Linked DNA regions of Homo sapiens: regions 2 and 3 are each linked to region 1. The links are contacts of gene promoters, found by promoter capture Hi-C in human tissues and cell types (Jung and others, 2019). All regions are on one chromosome and are shown on one strand. Each heading gives the region's core, a stretch centred on a gene start or on the middle of the fragment in contact. The rest is flanking DNA. Distances are from core to core; before and after follow the strand shown. Region 1 holds the start of VPS28 (VPS28 subunit of ESCRT-I). Region 2 has its middle 6.1 kb from the start of ZNF252P-AS1. Region 3 has its middle 12 kb from the start of ZNF252P-AS1.

Region 1 (3,387 bases), core at 270-2,769:
CTGGCTCACACCTGTAATCCCAGCACTTTGGGAGGCCGAGGTGAGCGGATCACCTGAGGTCAGGAGTTTGAGACCAGCCTGGCCAACATGGTGAAACCCTGTCTCTACTAAAATTACAAAATTAGCCGGACGTTGTGGCATACGGTTGTAATCCCAGCTACTCAGGAGGCTGAGGCAGGAGAATCGCTTGAACCCAGGAGGTGAAGGTTTCAATGAGCCAAGACCGAGCCACTGCACTCCAGCCTGGGAGACAGAGCAAGACCCTGTCTCAAAACAAACAAACGAACAACAAAAAAAACCGACAAAAAAAGACAGCCCGTAAGTGCCAGGTCCTGGAGACCCAGGGCTCCATGAAGAGCTCTCCTAAGCTCAATAATGGTGAACACACAGGGTGCTATAGGGGCTACCAGAAAAAGTGAGGTACTATGGACACTCAGGAGAGCGGGGCGGGGGCTGCAGTGGAGTGTGGTTCAAGCTGGAGGTTGAGGGAGGTTATGAGGGCGGCAGGCAGCTGTTTGATGGCCCACGAGGAGAGTTTGGGGCACAGGAAACAACACACTTAACAGCCCGCCTTTAAGTAGGCATGAACTTGGAGGAACCAACAAGCTGAAGGTGCAGCTTCTCGAAAGAGGGGGTCCTAGGGAATGAAGATGGAGAGGTGCCCCTAGTTGGGCAGCGAGCTGTGGAGAAACAATGGGAGCGGGGCCCGTGGGAGGGTCCTGCCTAGCACGGAAGCTGGGCCAGCTCCAGACGTTCTCTCTTTGAAAGTGGAGCCGTCAGATCCGCCGAGGGATTTGAGATAGGATTAAAATAAAGGAGTTACGAACGACACCCCTGTTTTTGGCCCAATGGGCCGGGCAGTAAGATAAACTCAGACGGAGAGGGGAGGAGGAGCGGGCCTGGCGGGCAGGCGCAGGAAGCTCTCGGTGGAGAGGCCCGGGAGAGCAGCGCTGAGCCGGCTAACTGGGAGTGGACGGTGCTACCGGGGATGGGAGAAGAGCAGAAGTGAGGGAAGGCCGCCCGCGCCGAAGCCCTGGGGCGCCCCAGCCGAGGAAGAGCCGGGAAAGGGCGTCGCCGCTCATGTAGGTAGGGAACGTCTGGGTCAAGCTCTCCGAGGGTCGAGGCCATTGCGAGCCGCGGGGTGGGGACCGAGGCTGCTCGGCAGCCGTCACGGAGCCGCCAGGCAGGAGAGCGCCGAGGAGCCAACCGCCCCAACCACGCAGGAGCTTCTGCCTAACAGCGAAAGCGGACGTTCTGCGGCCACAAGCAAATGTGCAAAACAACCTCGCAGAGTGGACAACGAGCAAGGAAAGCCAGTTTCTAGAACATGCCAATAACGTGACTTTTGCGGCGCTCAGCCGAAGCTGTGCCGGGGCCTAGGCGCGCCCAGAGGGTGCCAGGCCCTGAGTCGCCTCTCCCCACTCTGCCCCTTCCCCGCCCACCGGCCGGGCCCCGGGTACCTGGACGGCTCGCGGTCGGGAAGATGGCGCCGGGGGCGGGGTGCGCTCGGTCAGCGACTCGGCATTCGCCCCTCATGTCTGCGCCTGCGCGCGTCGGGGCGACCCCCCGCCCCTCCGTCCCCATCGGCAGCTCGGCGCTCAGCCCTCACGCCTGCGCCCGCGCCCGCCCGGACTTCGGGACATTCCCTCCAGCCGCGCAGCCCCCGGGACGTAACCGGCGCAGCAGACTCGAAGCCCGGTCTTACCCCGCCCACCCGCCTGCCAGGCAGCCACGGGGAGGGAGGCAGCAGCTTCATTTATTTTATTTTTTTTTTTTTTTGAGACGGAGTCTCGGTCTGTCGCCCAGGCTGGAGTGCAGTGGTGCGATCTCGGCTCACTGCAAGCTCCGCCTCCCGGGTTCACGCCATTCTCCTGCCTCAGCCTCCGGAGTAGCTGGGACTACAGGCTTCCACCACCACGCCCGGCTAATTTTTGGTATTTTTAGTAGAGACGGGGTTTCACCATGTTAGCCAGGATGGTCTCGATCTCCTGACCTCGTGATCCGCCCGCCTGGGCCTCCCAAAGTGTTGGGATTACAGGCGTGAGCCACCGCGCCCGGCCAGCAGCTTCATTTATTAGGGGCTTCGGTGAGGGTGGGGAAAGGCAGCGCCAGGGTCAGAGGCGCCGAAAGAAGAGCTTGGAGCCGTGGTCCAGCGTGCACTCGCCGGGGCCCGGCCGACTGGGCTGCAGCTGGCGCAGGGCGTCCCTGTCCTCAGCGCAGAGGCGTCTGCTGCACAGCTGCAGTTCCCGGAGCTGCGCGGCTATCTTGTCCCACAGGCCCAGGCCCAGGGGACCCTGGACGGCGCAGCCTGCGGAGGGGAAGAGGGCAGACCTCAGCGCTGCGGGGGCCGGCGGCGTCCTGGTGCCCGCGGCAGGCTCCAGGGAACAAACTCGCTTTCGCTGAGGGCCCCAGGGCTGTAGCGAGGGGCAGTGGGCAGAGCTCCGGAGAGGCCCCATGACTCTCCAGGAAGGGGTGGGATCATCTGCACAGCCAGCGGTCAGACAGGAGGAAGGGTGGCTCCCTTCTTTACCTCTGACAGTGCCCGATCTCAAAGTCCATGCCTACACGTCAGTCTCCCCACCCATAAGAAGGACATAATGGATCTGCTTGCAAATCTGTACATCGTGGGCCTGAGTGGATCAAGAGAACACTAAGCTCAGGAATTCAGGGAGCTGGGTGGGAAGGTACAGATGCCAGGAACTGAGGTGTGGGGAAGGGGTCTCACACCAGCACTCGGGGGCCTTCCTGGAAAAGGCGGCCTGGCCCTGGGAGGTGAAGGGGAGGGGGCACAGGAAGAAAGCAGAGCCCCGCTTCGTGCACATTCACTTAAGCCCTCATCCCCTGGAGGGCACAGCCTGCCCCGGCCCCAGTGGGGCAAGCCAGGTCATCAAAGCCCTTCCTGGGGTTGTCTTCCAGACAGCTCAGGTTGGGGACTGCCCTGATGTGGCTCAAGAGAGAACAAGCTAAATCAGACCACAGCCCTGGGCAGGGTTGTGTCAGAGGAGCCCCTGCCAGGAAGTAGGAGGGTCCCTTGGCAGCTTTCAACACCCTGACCTTGGGATCCCTTTTCCTGCCAGGGACAAGAAGAAAGTCCCTGTGGAACAGGGTCTTGCCTACCATAGTCTGCTCTGAAGGTTGGGTTGGAGAGACCAGAGGCAGATACCCACCTCGCCCCCTAACCCATGGTTTTAGGAGCTGGGATCATGCCCCTTTTCTGTCACTGTCACTCTGCCCCCTGCTGCCCCAGCCTCATGGAGCCCAGCCTTGCTGCCTGGCTGGTAGCAGTGACAGCCCCTTAGGAGGAGGCACCTGGGTCTCAGGCAGGTCCCTGAAAAGGCCGAACATGGCAGGCGTGGCCACCATACCAGCACTCACCTGACAGGCCAA
Region 2 (3,387 bases), core at 296-2,795, 580 kb after region 1:
GGCTTTGACAACAATTTATTTCTCACAGTTCTGGAGGCTGAAGCCCAAGATCAGGGTGCCAGCTGGCCGTTCTTGGTGAAGGTGGCTCCCTGGTTTGCAGACTGTGGTTTTCACACAGCACCTTTGCCTAGCGGAAATGGGAAGCCTCGGGCCCTTCATCCTAATCCTGTCTTGGGCCTCCACCCTCATTACCGCATCTGAACCATCTCAGTGGGGACTGGGTTTCAACACAGGCATTTTGTGGTGGATACAAACATTCTGCTATAGCGCAACTCGACAATAAAAAACATCCCAACTGTAAAGGAGCTGGAAAGGCAGAAAGCTAAGGTCAGTGGGGGATGCTCTGAGCGTCTGAAGACAGCGCAGCTATCCGTAAGGATCACATGCGGCTTCCCTCGCCTCCAGCTGCGCAAGGGCAGGTGCGGGCAAGGAAGTCCCACTGGGGCTTTTGGGGACCCAGCACAGCTCGGGCGAGTGGGTGAGGGTAGAGAGGATGCCTCAGTGCGTCCGGACACCACCGAGACCATAGTTCTCCAAGGGCACCTAGAGTGGATCCAGCTGAGTTCAAGTCCAGACGCTGCCTCAGGACTTCTCAGGACCACACTTCCCGCCCAGGTTGTTTCCTCCCTCTGGGAGCAGGAAAGGAGATGAGTCTTGGGGTGTGCGTGGGACTACTGGCCTGGAGCTGCTGTCAGCTCTGAACCCTCCCCCTCTCTCCAGGAACGCAGTTAGGCTTTTCGCGCTAGTCCCCCGGTAGGGCTGGCCGTCTGGGGCGCTCGGGCTTCCTTCCCTGACGGGCTGCAGGGTCTTTTGTGGCGTTTCTGTCTCCTTCGCCGCAGTGTGATCTATTGTTAACAGGGGTAAATCCACATGGGTCTGCTGCAGCCTCAATTCTTGCCTCCTCAGAAGAAAGAATTTGACGGAGAGGCATGAAGCATAAGGCAGAGGGAAAGATGGAGGCAAGTTTTAGAGCAGGAGTGAACATTTACTAAAAAGCTTTAGAGCAGGAACAAAAGGAAGCGAAGTACACTTGGAAGAAGGCCAAGTGGGCCACTCAAGAGATTAAGTGCACGGTTTGACCCTTGACTTGGGGTTTTATACACTGGCAAGGTTGTGGCGGTCGGGGGTTGGGGAGCATCCCTTCTCCTCTGATTCCTCCCTTGGGGTGGGCTGTCCACATGTGCAGGGTGGAAGTGGGGACACATGCCCAGTGTGTTTACTGGAGTTGTGTGTATGCTCACTTAAGGTGTTTCTTTCCTTACCAGTTGAGTCTTCTAATAAGGTATCAACCGGTTAAACTCTGCCACTTCACCGCCCTGTGTGCATGCTCAAGCCCACTTGCCCAACTCCTAAGATCTCATTGGGAAGCTGCTGATCACCAGCTTCAGGTTTTTTCTATCTGTTGGGAGACTGCCTTTCCCTTGTGCTGGCAGCAACCAATTCTTATTTGAGAGAGACAACTAACAACTACCTGACTGTCCCCTGATGGTCACCTGGTGTTCCTGGTGGGTGGGAGGGCTCTCCTGACTGCCTGACTACCTACTGTAACACTATCACCCCCACTGAAGCTCCCGAGCTCTTGTGGAAGACGTTATCCACTGAGCCTGTTCCCAAGAAGCAAGATTTTGACTTTACTAAACCCTCCACAATCTGTCAGATACAGCGCTGCATGGATAAATAGCTGTGGATGACTGACCCAGGAAGGTGCTGGGGTAAGCGGGCTCCTGAGAGACAAACATGCTCGAGAGAGAACTTTCTATTCAGTCAGCCTTTGAGCAAACGCTTCTGTTACATACAGCAGGCATGGTGTATTAGTCTTGTCTTAGGCCGGGCGCAGTGGCTCATGCCTGTAATCCCAGCACTTTGGGAGGCTGAGGTGGGCAGATCACAAGGTCAGGAGATCGAGAACATCCTGGCTAACACGGTGAAACCCCATCTCTACTAAAAATACAAAAAGTTAGCCAGGCAAGGTGGTGGGTGCCTGTAGTCCCAGCTACGAGGCAGGAGAATGGTGGGAACCTGGGAGGCAGAGCTTGCAGTGAGCCGAGATCATGCCACTGCACTCCAGCCTGGGTGACAGAGCGAGACTCCATCTCAAAAAAAAAAAAAAAAACAGAAAAAAGAAAGTCTTTTCTTTCATTGCTATATTCTCTCATTGCTGAGATTGGGCAATTTATATTTTTTTAAAAAAGGTTTAAGAACCAGGGGAGCTGACAGCATAAACCTCTGTCCCAGGGCTGGAGAAAATGAAATTAGATGTCTCAGCTCAAGGTGAGACAGGAATAAAGGGGCAAATTCCTCCTTGCTCCACTTTTTCTATTTCACATCCCCAACAGATTGGATGATGTGCACCCATATTGGGAAGGGGAATCTACCTTGCTGATTCAAATGCTAATCTCATCCAGAAGTGCCCTTGCCCAGAAATAATGTTTAATCTGGGCACCCCATGCCTAGTCAAGTTGACAGGTAAAGTTAACCATCCCGGTAATTATTATCGTTTTTTCCTACTTCACAGATGAGGGACCTAAATCATATAGAAGCTGAGTAATTTGGCCAAGGTCACACTTCTAATAATTGACCAAACTAGAACCCAGGTAGATTGGTGCCCATGCACTATCATGTACTGACCAGCTGAAAAGTCTAAGACTTTGACCCAAGCTTAGAGATCTTGGGCAAGTCCCTTAAGCTCTCTGAGAATCCATTTCCTTCATTTATAAAATGGAGATAATAACAAAATGTATGTCATCTACCTCATTAGTTAGTTGTAAGATCAAGTGAACTGTTAATAACTGGACATGAACTAATTGTTGTTAGTGTTCTCAGAGCCATATTTGCCAGCAAATGTGCTTTTGATAGCTTAGGACTATCTTTAACTGTTTATGAAAGAAGCATACGCTAAAACCTTGCAAAATCCAGTCTAAGTAAATATGACTGTTATGGGAAGGCCATCTCTGGAGTTGGGCCCTTTATAAAGAAGATTCCAAGGCTCCGATACCTGTCTTCTCTTCAGGAAATGCACATTCCTGTCCTGCATTTTCACTGATTTTTGTGAGATGCTTATAGTCAGGAAAATTTATAGCAGTACCCTTTCCCAAGCATTCACTTTAACTATGGAAATATATGGTTATTTTTTTCCTTAATTGATATCATATTCTTTTTTTTTCATCTTCCTTCTTGGTATATATTTTCTTATAATTTTTCCTAACTTAAAAATTAGATGATAATTTTTTTGGCTTTAATTTCTTGTATGATGGTGTCTTTAATGACTTTGTGCCTTTCATTTATTTACTGACATCCATTCTCCTATATTTTATTTTATTTTTTGAGACAGGGTCTCTATCTTCTAGGCTGGAGTGCAGGGTGGTGCAGTCATGGCTTACTGCAACC
Region 3 (3,387 bases), core at 374-2,873, 560 kb after region 1:
CTTTTGCTTGTGAAACTTAGTTTGGCTGGATATGAAATTTTGGGTTGAAAATTCTTCTTTTTTTTTTTTTTTTTTTTTTGAGATGGAATTTTGCTCTTATTGCCCAGCCTGGAGTGCAATGGTGCAATCTCAGCTCACTGCAACCTGTGCCTCCCAGGCATGTGCCACCATGTGGCTAATTTTTGTATTTTTGTATTTTTAAGTAGAGACAGGGTTTCTCCATGCTGGTCAGGCTGGTCTCGAACTCCTGACCTCAGGTAATCCGCTCACCTCAGCCTCCCAAAGTGCTGGGATTACAGGTGTGAGCCACTGCGCCCAGCCCAGTTCTTTTAAGAATGTTGAATATTGGCCCCCATTCTCGTCTGGCTTATAGGGTTTCTGCAGAGAGATCACCTGTTAGTCTAATGGGTTTACCTTTGTAGGTGACCTGATCTTTCTCTCTGGCTGCCCTTAGCATTTTTTCCTTCATTTCAATATTGGAGAGTCTGATGATTATGTATCTTGGGTTTGATCTTCTTGTGGAGTATCTTAGTGGTGTTCTGTGTATTTCCTGAATTTGAATGTTGGCATATCTTGCTAGGTTGGGGAAGCTCTCCTGGATAATATCCTGAAGTGTGTTTTCCAACTTGGTTCCATTTTCCCCATTGCTTTCAGATACACCAATCAATCGTAGGTTTGGTCTTTTCACATAGACCCATATTTCTTGGAGGCTTTGTTTGTTCCTTTTAATTCTTTTCTCTGTAATCTTGTTTTCATGCCTTATTTCAGCAAGGTGATCTTCAATCTCTACTATCCTTCTTCCACTTGATCAGTTCGGCTATTGATACTTGTATATGCTTCAGGAAGTTCTTGTGCTGTGCTTTTCAGCTCCATCAGGTCATTTATGTTCCTCTCTAAACTGGTTATTCTAGTTAGCAGTTCCTGTAACCTTTTACCAAGTTTCTTAGCTTCCTTGCATTGGGTTACAACATGGTTTTTTTTTTAGCTCAGAGGAGTTTGTTATTACCCACCTTCTGAAGCCTACTTCTGTCAATTCATCAGTCTCATTCTCCATCCAGTTTGGTGCCCTTGCTGGAGAAGAGTTGTGATCATTTGGAAGAGAAGAGACATTCCGGTTTTTGGAATTTTCAGTGTTTTTGCACTGTTTTTTCCTCATCTTCGTGGATTTATTTACCTTTGATCTTTGAGGCTGATGACCTTTGGATGGAGTTTGTGTGTGTGTGTGGGGTCTTTTATGTTGATGTTGTTATTGTTGCTTTGTGTTTGTTAGTTTTTCTTCTAACAGTCAGACGCCTCTTCTGCCAGTCTGCTGCCGTTTGATGGAGGTCCACTCCAGACCCTGTTGACTTGGTTATCACCAGTGGAGGCTGCAGAACAGCAAAGATTGCCACCTGCTCCTTCCTCTAGAAGCTTTATCCCAGAGTGGCACTGACCTGATGCCATCTGGAGCTCTCCTGTGTGAGGTGTCTCTTGAGCCGTTAAGAGGTGTCTCCCAGTCAGGAGGCATGGGGTTCAGGGACCCACCTGGGGAGGCAGTCTGTCCCTCAGCAGAACTGGTGTGCTGTGCTAGGAGAATCCCCTTTGTCAGGATCAGCTCCTCTCTTCACAGCCAGGCAGGAAAGATTAAGTCTGCTGAAGCTGCGCCCACAGCTGCCCCTCCCTCCAGGGGCTCTGTCCCAGGGAGGTGAGAGTTTTATCTGTAAGCTCCTGACTGGGGCTGCTGCATTTCCTTTAGAGATGCCCTGCCCAGTGAGGAGAAATCGAGAGAAGCAGTTTGGCCATAGCTGCTTTGCCGCACTGTGGTGTTCCGCCCAGTCCAAACCTCCTGGTCTCCTTAGCACCGTCAGGGGAAAACCGCCTACTAAAGCCTCAGTAATGTCAGAAGATGCTCCTTCCCCCTCCAAGCTCGAACATCCCAGGTTGACTCCAGACTACTGTGCTGGCAGTGAGAATTTCAAGCCAGTGGTTCTTAGCTTGCTGGGATCCATGGGAGTGGGACTCGCTGATTGAGACCACTTGGCTCCCTGGCTTCAGCCCCCTTTCCAGGGGAGTGAATAGTTCTGTCTCACTGGGATTCCAGGTGCCACCAGGGTATGAAAAAAACTCCTGCACCTAGCTCGATGCCTGCCTAAACAGCCGCCCAGTTTTGTGCTTGAAACCCAGGACCCTGGTGGTGTAGGCTCATGAGGGAATCTCCTGATCTGCAGATTGTAAAAACCATGGGAAAAGTGTAGTACCTAGGCTGGGTAGCACAGTCCCTCATGGCTTCCCTTAGCTGGGGCAGGGAGGTCCCCCGGCTCCTTGCACTTCCTGGGTGAAGCGATGTTCCTCCCTGCTTCTGCTCCCTCTCCATGGGTTGCACCCACTACCTAACCAGTCCCAATGAGATGAACTGGGTACCTCAGTTGGAAATGCAGAAATCACCCATCTTCTGTGTTGGTCTCAATGGGAGCTGCAGACTGGAGCTGTTTGTATTTGGCCATCTTGGCTCCTTCCTCAATGCCTACTTTTTTTTTTTTTTAAAGGGAGCAAATCAACAACCTAATCTTCTACCTTAAAACACTGGAGAAAACAAACAAACAAACAAAAAAACTAAACCCAAATCAAGCAGAAGGTAGAAAATAAGGAATATAACAGAAACTAATGAACTAGAGAATAGAAAAAAGGCTTAATACCAATTCTTCACAAACTCTTCCAAAAAAACAAAAGAGAACACTTCCCAATTCATTCAATGAAAACATATATAAAAATTATACACCATTACTGAGTGGGATTTATCCCAGAAATGCAAGGTTTGTTTAGCATCCTAAAATCAATTAATACATCATATCCAAAGAATAAAGGAAAAAATCAAGAAAGGAAAATAAAGACATTTTCAGACAAACAAAAACTCACAGAATAATGCTAACTTAAGTACAAGAAATACTAAAGGGAATTTTTCAAACTGAAAATAATGATCTTAGACAAAAGTACAGAACTGCAGAAAGGAATGAAAAACACTAGAAAGGGTAACTCTAAATGTAATGTATATATACCGTCAAAAATAGCAACAGAATAAACTCTCTGGTGAGGTTTCAAAGTAGGTAGTACAAAATAAGTGACTATAATAATGAAAGGCAGGAGAGGGACAAAAGCAAACGTAAGGATCTTGCATTTTTCAAGAAGTGGTAAAAATATTAAGGTAGACCATAGTAAGTTGAAGAGACATATTTAATCATTAGAGTCATCACTTAAAAAAGAATGTACAACTAAAAAGCTAATGGAGAAGAAAAATAAAATTACATAAAGTTTGATTTATTCAAAAGAATATAAAAGGCCTGGTGCGGTGCTTCATGCCTGCAATCCCAGCACTTCAGGAGGTCGAGGCGGGCGGATCACGAGGTCAGG

Evidence for each region. Contacts are between HindIII fragments. The study calls those that stand out against the background at their distance.
Region 2: a fragment that was not itself captured here is called in contact with the fragment with the promoter of VPS28 in region 1 in 2 of the 25 tissues and cell types used here (lymphoblastoid cells and spleen).
Region 3: a contact is called between a fragment that was not itself captured here and the fragment with the promoter of VPS28 in region 1, in 1 of the 25 tissues and cell types used here (lymphoblastoid cells).

The regions. Positions count from the first base shown.
Region 1 is chr8:144,427,029-144,430,415 of GRCh38, forward strand. It overlaps VPS28 (VPS28 subunit of ESCRT-I), which reads right to left and starts at 1,520. Exons shown (of 10, transcript NM_016208.4): 1 at 1,461-1,520. It overlaps TONSL (tonsoku like, DNA repair protein), which reads right to left. Exons shown (of 26, transcript NM_013432.5): 25 at 3,376-3,387; 26 at 1,747-2,308. The coding sequence ends at 2,115. RefSeq lists a silencer at 1,346-1,695. The HindIII fragment of the contact is 10,135 bases long and covers 372-3,387 here.
Region 2 is chr8:145,007,180-145,010,566 of GRCh38, forward strand. No RefSeq gene overlaps it. Among named protein-coding and RNA genes, the nearest start is that of ZNF252P-AS1, 6.1 kb to the left of the region's middle. The HindIII fragment of the contact is 4,220 bases long and covers 1-3,387 here.
Region 3 is chr8:144,988,766-144,992,152 of GRCh38, forward strand. It overlaps the pseudogene ZNF252P. Among named protein-coding and RNA genes, the nearest start is that of ZNF252P-AS1, 12 kb to the right of the region's middle. The HindIII fragment of the contact is 3,981 bases long and covers 1-3,387 here.